Linked DNA regions of Homo sapiens: regions 1 and 2 are each linked to region 3. The links are contacts of gene promoters, found by promoter capture Hi-C in human tissues and cell types (Jung and others, 2019). All regions are on one chromosome and are shown on one strand. Each heading gives the region's core, a stretch centred on a gene start or on the middle of the fragment in contact. The rest is flanking DNA. Distances are from core to core; before and after follow the strand shown. Region 1 has its middle 36 kb from the start of SIX4. Region 2 overlaps MNAT1 (MNAT1 component of CDK activating kinase). Region 3 holds the start of SIX4 (SIX homeobox 4).

Region 1 (3,541 bases), core at 606-3,105, 36 kb after region 3:
GAGACCAGCCTGGCCAACATGGCGAAACCCTGTCTCTACTAAAAATACAAAAATTAGCTGGGCGTGGTGGCTGCTGCCTGTAGTCCCAGCTACTTGGGAGGCTGAGGCAGGAGAATCGCTTGAACCTGGGAGACAGAGGTTGCAGTGAGCCGAGATTGTGCCATTGCACTCCAGCCTGGGTGACACAGCAAGACTCCAACTAAAAAAAAAAAAAAGTTCCAGGGGAATATGTACACACACACATACCTATAGTCTAGGGAGAAGAAATAAGACTGAAGGTCAGAGATGGAAAGATGACCTTCACTTTTATATCCTTTTAAATTGTTTAATTATTTTTATCATATATCGCTTTTATGACAAAAGTGTAAAACTTTCAAAGGCACTATTCATAATCTTTGCCTCAGTAATTTTCTTCCTAGCAATATATTTCCCACGATAATTTGAGAGACAAAAATTCATTCCCAATATGCATCAAAAACTTGAAAATAACCTAAAGTCCAATATTATGTAAACAATTGTAAAAATTATAATTTTTTTTTTTTGAGAGGGAGTCTTGCTCTGTCGCCCAGGCTGGAGTGCAGTGGCACGATCTTGGCTCACTACTTTCGCCTCCCGGGTTCAAGCGATTCTCCTGCCTTAGCTTCCTGAGTAGCTGGGATTACAGATGTGCACCACCACACCCAGCTAATTTTTGTATTTTTATTAGAGACAGGGTTTTACCGTGTTGGTCAGGCTGGTCTCGAACTCCTGACCTCGTGATCCGCCCACCTCGGACTCCCAAAGTCCTGGGATTACAGGCGTGACCCACTGCGCCTGGCCAAAAAATTATAATTATTTTATAACATTTTCAGTGATACTAGAAAATGATACAACGTGACAGAGAAATAAAAGGACCCCAAAAGGGTATATATTATACCTTCAATTTGATGAGAAAATAAATGGAAAAAAAAAAGCTTAGTTAAAAGTCCACAAGTACACATACCAGAATGTTACTGTTACTGGTGGAGGGTCTTGACTGCATGTTGTCCAGGTTCTTGGCGTTTTGAACAAAGAATTGGACAAAATGTACAGCAGAGCAAGGAAAGAATGATGCAGCGAAAGAACAAATGCAGAGATTTATTGCAAATGAAAGTACGCTCCACAGCGTGGGAGCGGCCAGAGCAGCGGCCCAAGGGCTCCAGATACAGAATCTTCTCCGGTCCAAACAACGGCTAGAGGTTTCCCAGTGGTTGCTCGCTTATTGGTTGTGGAAAGCAACCAATCAGCAGCTGAAATGAAGTTGCAAAGGTCAGACTCCCATGCAAACATCTGACTGATTGTGGAAAGCAACCAATCAGAGGCTAAAGTGATGTTACAAATTTTTCACTTCTATGCAAATGAAAACTTGGCTCGCAATCGGTCTGATTGGCTGCAGACAGCAACTAATCAGAGGCTGAAGTGAAATTATAAAGTTACACTCCTAGGCAAATGCCTCATTGGTTGCTTCTTGCAGAGGTATTTTCAATTTCCCATCTGCGTTGCAGAAAAGATGGGGGTTTACAAAGGGAGTAGCCTGTGGTCCTTTTGTTACTTAGGTGTGGAAAGTTAGGGATTTCCTTTCAGTTTAGTTCTAGGAAGTCAGTGTGAAATGGCCTTAGGTTCCCTTCCTCCAGACCCTATTTTCCTGCCTCATTATCAGCTGTTGCCACTAGAGAATACCACTATGGATGAGTATTCTGTTTCTTAATACTTTTCTGTTTGATGATATCAGTTAGGGCTCTTCTGGGTGTAAGCGTCTGAAACCTAAATCAAACTAGCTTAGTAAGAAGGATATTTATTGGTTCACAGAGTCAGTCAGGGCACTAATATTTATTGGCTCATGAAACCATTTGCTAAAACTGACTGCAACCAGGGTCTCTCCAGTTCTTTAGAATCCAGTTTCTGCTCCTCTCTGTACCTTGGGGTCAATGTCTCCTAGGGTAGCTCTGCCTTCTCCACAAGCCTTAGAACCCTGTTGCCAGTAGCTCCTGGATTCACATTTTCTAGTTTTGCCAAGGAAAATAAAAGACTGTCTCTCCATTGTTTGAGTGGGGTTGGGGAGGTGCATCTAGAACAATCACAATGAAAAGTTCTCACTGGCCCATGTTAGATCTCGTGTCCAACCATTACCCAATCACAGTGGCTCAGGTGGTGGTAATGAGAGAGTATTAGGGGCCAACTTGGATCATGTGTCTACTCTTAGAACAATCACTGTGGCCAGGAAGACAGATTTGTGAAAGGAGACAGCAATATTCACTGACCAGATGGCTAGTGCAAGGGAATGAAGAGTGCCATGTATCTAGAAAAGAGGAGAGCTATTAGGCCCTCAGAATAACGATGTGTATTGCACTTTTCAATGAATATGTTTTATGCAGATAATCAGGAAGAAAATTTTAAAGTAAAAAAAAGAACACCACTTCCTTCTTTCTCCTTCTTGCCCTGGGGCTCAGTAGTGTCCCTGAAACACTTTCTTACAGACTTTCTAGTCAGTTGGGAAGACAATGATATTCACCTTTTGATTAGAACTTGGAATCAAACTTGCTCACCCCTAAATGGCCTGGTAAAATCGTTTTCTGACACCCAGAACCTGATTAGTTGTGGTTTTTTTCCCAAGTCATCTTCCAGTCAACAGAAACATTGTTTGCATCTGAGTTCTACCCTATGGTTTGAATTTTGGGGTGAGGCTTAATTCCAAAGGCCCTGGTTTCTACATTTTTCTGCCTCTCCTGAACTAGCCAAGTCTGTGTTTATTGACCTTCACAGCACAATGCAAAATACCCTTGTTTGCTTTGGCCTGTCCTGATGGGCAAGGAGTCATGTCTGAGTTTGCCTTTCACTGTTTGATTTGCTAATTCTATTGTGTATTTTAGTAACTTTCTGTATACATCACTAGACACCTTTGTTAATGACTCATTATTTCAATGTTTTGTGGAAAAAGATTATACAATGTGCTCTACTTTCTTAAGACAATTTGTTACTTTCTGTAAAATTATGAGACTAAGGACCAACTCATAATGGAATATTTATTTCTAAGTACAACAATAAATATTTCTAATATTTATTTCTAAGTACATATTTATTTCTAAGTACAACAGAAGTAATCACTATTATACTAGATATAGGATAAAATTACATAGAATTATGAAAAGCTGAAGATGAGATTCATCCATTCTTTTTATTTTTCAATTGCGGTAAAATACATACAGCATCAAATTTACTATTGTACTTTTTTTGTGTGTGTGTGACAGAGTCTTGCTGTGTTGTCCAGGCTGGAGTGTAGTGGTGACATCTCAGCTCTCTGAAACCTCCGCCTCCCGGGTTCAAGCAATTCTCCTGTCTTAGCCTCTCGAGTAGCTGAGATTACAGGCGTGCAACACCACACCCGGCTAATTTTTTTATTTTTAGAAGAGACAGGGTTTCACTATGTTGGCCAGGCTGGTCTCGAACTCCTGACCTCAGGTGATCCACCTGCCTTGGCCTCCCAAAGTGCTGGGATTACAGGCGTGAGCCACTGTCCCCAACC
Region 2 (3,208 bases), core at 130-2,629, 63 kb before region 3:
GAGATAGCCCAAAAGCTAGGCCAACTGCACCAGTTAGCCAAGTCATGAATGCAAAGGAAAAGTCCTCGAAGGAAATTAAAAGCACTGCGCCAATGACACACAATGTTAAGAAAGCAAAACAGTCTTATCATTTATACAGAGAAAGTTTCAGTGGTCTGGATAAAAGATCAAACCAGCCACAACATTCCCTTAAACCAAAACCTAATCCAGATCCTAATACCTAACTCTCTTCAATCCTATAAAGGTTGAGAAAGGTGAGGAAGTTGCAGAAGAAAAGTCTGAAGCTAGCAGAGGTTGGTTCATGAAATTCAAGGAAAGATGCTGTTTCCATAACATAAAAGTGCAAGGTGAAGCAGCAAGTGCTGATATGGAGGCTTCAGCAAGTTATCCATAATATCTATCTAAGATAATGATGAAGGTGGCTACACTGAAAAACAGACTTTTCAATGCAGATGAAACATCCTTCTATTGGAAGATGCCGTCTAGGACTTCCATAGCTACAGAGGAGAAGCCAATGCCTGGTTTCAAAGCTTCAAAGGCAAGGGTGTCTTTTCAGGAGATAGTGCAGCTGATGACTAAATTGAAACCAATGTTCATTTGTCATTTTGAAAAATCATAAAGCCCTTAAATATTATGCTAAATCTATACTGCCTGTGCTCTATAAATGGAAGAATAAAGCCTGAATGATGGCGCATCTATTTACAGCATGGTTTGCTTAATATTTGAACCCACTGTTGAGACCTATTGCTCGGAAAAAAAGATTCCTTCCAAAATGTTACTGCCCATTGACAATGAATCTGGTCACCTAAGACCTCTGATGGATATGTGCAAGGACATGAATGTTGTTTTCATGCCTGCTAACACAACATCCATTCAAAAGCCCATGGGTCAAGGAGTAATTCTGACATTGAAGTCTTGTTATTTAAGTAATACATGTCATAATGCTGTAGCTGCTACAGACAATGATTCCTCTGATAGATCTGGGCAAAGCAAATTCAAAACCTTTTTGAAAGGATTCACCATTCTAGATGCCATTAAGAACATGTGTGATTCATGTGAAAAGATAAAAAATATTAACATTAAAAGGCATTTGGAAGAAGTTGATTCCAATCCTCACAGATGACTTTCAGGGTCTGACTTCAGTGGAGAAAATAACTGCAGATATGGCAGAAACAGCGAGAGAACTAGAATTAGAAGTGGAGCCTGAAGATGTGACTGAATTGCTGCAATCTCATGATCAAACTTGAACAAATGAGGAGTTTGGGCTTCTTAGGGATGATTCTTGATATGGAATCTACTCCTGGTGAAGATGCTGTGAACACTGTTGAAATGACAAGAGATTCAGAAATAACATATACAGTTAGTTGATAAAGCTGTGGCAAGGTTTGAGAATTGATTCCAATTTTGCGAGGAATTTTCCAGTAAGTAAATGTTATCAAACAGCATCACATGCTCCAGGGAAATCTTTCATGAAAGGAAGAGTCAATAAATGCAACGAACTTCATTGTTGTCTCATTTTAAGAAATCACCAAGGCCACCCCAACCTTCAGCAATCACCATCCTGATCAGTCAGGAGCCATCAACATCTGGGCAAGACCTTCTACTAGCACAAAGATTATAGTCACTTTCGAAGGCTCAGATGATTGTTAGCAATTTTTAGCAGTAAAGTATATTTTAATTAAGGTATGCACACTGTTTTTTAGTCATATTGATATTGTACACTTAATATACTACAGTATAGTGTAAACATAACTTTCATACACACTAAGAAATCAAAAAGTTTGTGTGACACACTTTATTGTGCTAGTCACTTTATTGTGCTATTTGTTGTATTATGATATTTGCTTTACTGTGGTGGTCAGAAACCAAACCAGCAATATGTCTGAGGTATGTCTGCATACGAGTAATAAGGGAAAGCACCATGGCCACAGGAGCATTCAGGACTTTGGAGACTTGAAAGAACGATGTCCCACTAAACCAAGCTAGCATTTGCATACAGACCTTTACTATAATTCTACTTCGGGGAAAGGAAGGGCAAATTCAACTAATACTCTGATTTCCATTAATGCCACTGCACTAAATAAGGTATGTCTTTACTTCCACCATGATTCAAAGGAGTTAAAAATACATGTAACTAAGTATGTCCAAAAACAATGTCAGCAATTACCTGAAAAGGCTATTATTAAAATGCTTATCCCTTTTCCAAATAGGTATCTATAGATGCCAGATAGTCTTCATTTATTTCAACCAAAACATACAACAGACTCAACACAGAAGCAGATGTGAGAATCTAGTTTTCTTCTCTTAAGCCAAGCATTTTTAAAAGATTTGCAAAAATGTAAAACAATGCTACTCATCTCACAAAATTTTTTTGTTTTGGAAAATATAGTTATGTTTCATAAAAATACATTGTGGTAACATGTAATAGGTTTATAATTTTTGATGAATAAATGAACATTTCAAAGTTTCCAAATTTTAATTCCTAATATGATAAATGTTAACAGATATAACTTTCATAAATAAGAGGTCTTGAGGGTCATCAATAACTTTTAAAATTATAAAAGTTACTAACACCAAAAAGTCTGAGAACCACTGTTACATGTGACCAATAAAAGATTGCTTATAATGAACAAATGAACTCAAAGGAATGCAATCATAATTTAAGTGTTCCCCAAACTACCCAAGCCATTAAGATTTTCTCATTTATTAGTACTAAAATATTTTTTAAATTTTCCACTGTTACTATTGTTCTAGCTCTCTCTTCACTTCTTATTTTGTTTTTCTACCTCTTTCTCTTGATTAGAAATGCTACATGTTTGTCTAAGTTGTATAAAGGCCCTTTTAAAGAATCACTATAAAGAAACTTGAATTTCACAATTTTTTGTGTGTTTTCCAATTTACTAATTTCTACTTTTCTATTATTTATTTTATTCAATTTTTCTTAATTATATTTTGTTTCTATTTCTTAGAGTTTAACACTGGGTTTATTTTCATTATTTCACTCTTCATATCCACAACAGTTTGTACTTTTCTACTATTTTTAAGAGGCCATGAAAAAATATATATAATTCATTTTTTAAACTATTTCTTCTAGGTCAATATTTATCAAGCATCCATTATTATGACCTTTTAAATAGAATAAAATATAACAACTAGTCAAGATGCTATTTCTATTCATTAGGTCCTCAAATATTTAAGCTAAACAGTT
Region 3 (3,224 bases), core at 466-2,965:
AGGTTGCAGTGAGCCAAGATCACGCCACTGCACTCCAGCCCGGGCAACAGAGTGAGACTCCATCTCAAAAAATAAATAAATAAATAAATAAATAAATAAGCAAATAAATAATATGGCCTTTTCTGTTGTTATAAATTTTAAATCTACCAGCGATGTCAACACATTAGGGTAATGCAAAAACAAGTTAAATCCTACATCAAATGACATCTTGATTGACCAGCAATAAAATAAAGCCTGTCTACAAAAAAAAAGAAAATCTCACCAAGTTTATCATGACGGCAGGTGACCTAGACAGCTGCTTTGTAATATGCTGAAGTAGGCAGCTATGAGTAGCTGGGAAGCATACACAATACAAGGCCACCCTGAAGCAAAGGTTAGGATGATGTCATTAAAATGTTGAATTTTGAGAGGCCGAGGCGGACGGATCACGAGGTCAGGAGATCGAGACCATCCTGGCTAACGTGGTGAAACCCCGTCTCTACTAAAAAATACAAAAAAAAAAAAAAAAAAAAAATTAGCTGGGCGTGGTGGCGGGCGCCTGTAGTCCCAGCTACTCGGGAGGCTGAGGCAGGAGAATGGCGTGAACCCAGGAGGCGGAGCTTGCAGTGAGCCGAGATCACACCACTGCACTCCAGCCTGGGCGACAGAGCGAGACTCCATCTCGGGGGGAAAAAAAGTTGAATTTTGAGAAAGAGCAGCAGCAGGCAAACCCAACTGACCTACAGTAATCAAAGAAGCAGAAATGGATCATCCCTTTTGGAATTAAGATCTTGTGCAAATTACAAAGGAAAGAGACACAACTGCAAACAACAAAAGACTCTACCCCCACTTCAGCATCAAACCAGAGGGCAATCTGTCTATGCTGTGGAAAAGGGCTTCTGATCCTGCACTGATCTGGATGACACCCGCACATTCAGTGTTTCTAGCCTATCATCGTTAAAAAAGAAATACTCATATACTTACATTAAAAAGTTCATGTAGAAAACTTAAATTTCCATATTTAAAGCTTAGATCTCTTCCACACGACTCATCCAGGATAAACTTATGGTTTAATATTCTACATGTTTAATTATACCATGTTCAACTCAGTTGGGTTGCCAGCCCTCCACGTGGCTTAAGGTTAAGTACATTTTTTGAAGGCTTCTTGTTTTTGTCTTCTCAGTGTGCTATTTATGCTGCTAATTATAAGGTTTTCAAGCATTTTTCCCTCTTTGGAATTTTAATTTACTGTAAATGCTTGCCCCTTAGAACATTTCCTAGTGTCATTTTATTTTTGACCGTTTTGAATACAAAATCCTTGATAAAGACATCCAAAAAGAGGGAGAATGGGGAACAGGGACATACTGGGGGGCTTCTGAATTGTCCTCTGAAGTTTTGTCATCTAGATGCTGAGGGTGGTCTCTTTGTTAAAAATTTAACCATCCAGACCTTAAGGCCACACAATTAATATTCCCTCTGGAATTGTAGGGCCTCTGTTTGAAAGAGTTGTCCAGTTTTCAGGCCACATTAGGTAATTTCCCGCCCAGGAGCGTGGCTTGGAAAGAATGTCGGTGTTTTCCTTCAGGTATAGGTGCCTGGGGGTCAGGAGGGGAGGGAAAGGCGAGGGGTGGAGTGGGAGGCGGGTGATCGACAGGGATAGAAACTGTGTCTCCTCCTCCCTCTGAATGCGAAATAGCCAATGAGGTGGCTAGGCCGGGCCGGCCCGGCCGCCACTGCCATATAGTATGCAGCAACCGGAGGAGTCACGTTGGGGGAACGGCAGAAAGCAGCTATCCGTTTACACTACTTTGCTCTAACAGCTATCTTAATGGTGACTGCGTGGCCGGGGGGAAACCTGATCGGCCAGATACAGCCGAAACCAGGAGGGAGGGAGTGGGCTTTCCGGAGGGGGAGAGGAGGGAGGGAGACGAAGGAGGAGGAGTAAGAGAGGAGGAAAGAAAGAGGAAAAGAGTGCGAGGGAGTGAGGGAGGGAGGAAAATAAACAACAAAAAATGTCCTCTTCCTCCCCCACCGGGCAGATCGCAAGTGCGGCGGACATCAAGCAAGAGAATGGGATGGAAAGCGCCTCGGAAGGGCAGGAGGCGCACCGAGAAGTGGCGGGGGGCGCGGCGGTAGGGCTGAGCCCCCCGGCTCCAGCCCCTTTTCCCCTGGAGCCGGGGGACGCCGCGACCGCTGCCGCCAGGGTGAGCGGAGAGGAAGGGGCAGTGGCGGCGGCGGCGGCCGGAGCGGCGGCGGATCAGGTACAACTCCACTCGGAACTTCTGGGCAGGCACCACCACGCCGCCGCCGCCGCCGCGCAGACCCCGCTGGCCTTCTCGCCCGACCACGTCGCCTGCGTGTGCGAGGCACTGCAGCAGGGGGGCAACCTGGACCGCCTGGCCCGGTTCCTGTGGTCCCTGCCCCAGAGCGACCTGCTACGTGGCAACGAGAGCCTGCTGAAGGCGCGGGCGCTCGTGGCCTTCCACCAGGGCATCTACCCCGAGCTCTACAGCATCCTCGAGAGCCACAGCTTCGAGTCGGCCAACCACCCGCTGCTGCAGCAGCTCTGGTACAAGGCGCGCTACACCGAGGCCGAGCGAGCCCGCGGCCGGCCGCTGGGAGCCGTAGACAAGTACCGGCTGCGCAGGAAATTCCCCCTGCCCCGCACCATCTGGGACGGCGAGGAGACGGTGTATTGTTTCAAGGAGAAGTCGCGCAACGCGCTCAAGGAGCTCTACAAGCAGAATCGCTACCCTTCGCCCGCCGAGAAGCGGCACCTGGCCAAGATCACCGGCCTCTCCCTCACCCAGGTCAGCAACTGGTTCAAGAACCGCCGGCAGCGCGACAGGAACCCCTCCGAGACCCAGTCCAAAAGGTGAGCGCCAACTTTCCTCCTCCTCCCCCTTCCTCTCCCCCACCCCCTTCCCGGCTTTCTTTTCCTCCAAGTGCTCGCAAACATGGCGCTTACCTTCCCCACCAGCCTGGTCCGGCTGCCCACCTCTCCCCGCCCCCTACCTCGCTCCCCGGCCGGCAGAGGTAGGGGGCGGCGGAGGCGGGGGGCGGGGGAACCTCCCTCCTTACCCTCCCCCTCTCCCCCCAGAAGTTTCTGGTCGCCCGCCTAGGTCTCAGTCCCCGCCCCCACCTCGGCTGGTCACTGCTGCCCAGCTTCCCACCCCCATCCCGCTGGCTTTGAAGTTGCCACCCTCTCCCCGTTTCTGGAGGGGCTAACGAAGCAAATGTGGACA

The links. Contacts are between HindIII fragments. The study calls those that stand out against the background at their distance.
Region 1: a contact is called between a fragment that was not itself captured here and the fragment with the promoter of SIX4 in region 3, in 1 of the 25 tissues and cell types used here (IMR-90 fibroblasts).
Region 2: a contact is called between a fragment that was not itself captured here and the fragment with the promoter of SIX4 in region 3, in 2 of the 25 tissues and cell types used here (adrenal gland and mesenchymal stem cells).

The regions. Positions count from the first base shown.
Region 1 is chr14:60,686,367-60,689,907 of GRCh38, reverse strand. No RefSeq gene overlaps it. Among named protein-coding and RNA genes, the nearest start is that of SIX4, 36 kb to the left of the region's middle. The HindIII fragment of the contact is 4,287 bases long and covers 1-3,541 here.
Region 2 is chr14:60,785,820-60,789,027 of GRCh38, reverse strand. All of the region lies in intron 1 of MNAT1 (MNAT1 component of CDK activating kinase), which reads right to left. Among named protein-coding and RNA genes, the nearest start is that of MNAT1, 53 kb to the right of the region's middle. The HindIII fragment of the contact is 3,656 bases long and covers 1-3,207 here.
Region 3 is chr14:60,722,842-60,726,065 of GRCh38, reverse strand. SIX4 (SIX homeobox 4) reads left to right here and starts at 1,715. Exons shown (of 3, transcript NM_017420.5): 1 at 1,715-2,854. The coding sequence starts at 1,992. RefSeq lists a silencer at 2,233-2,302. The HindIII fragment of the contact is 7,845 bases long and covers 373-3,224 here.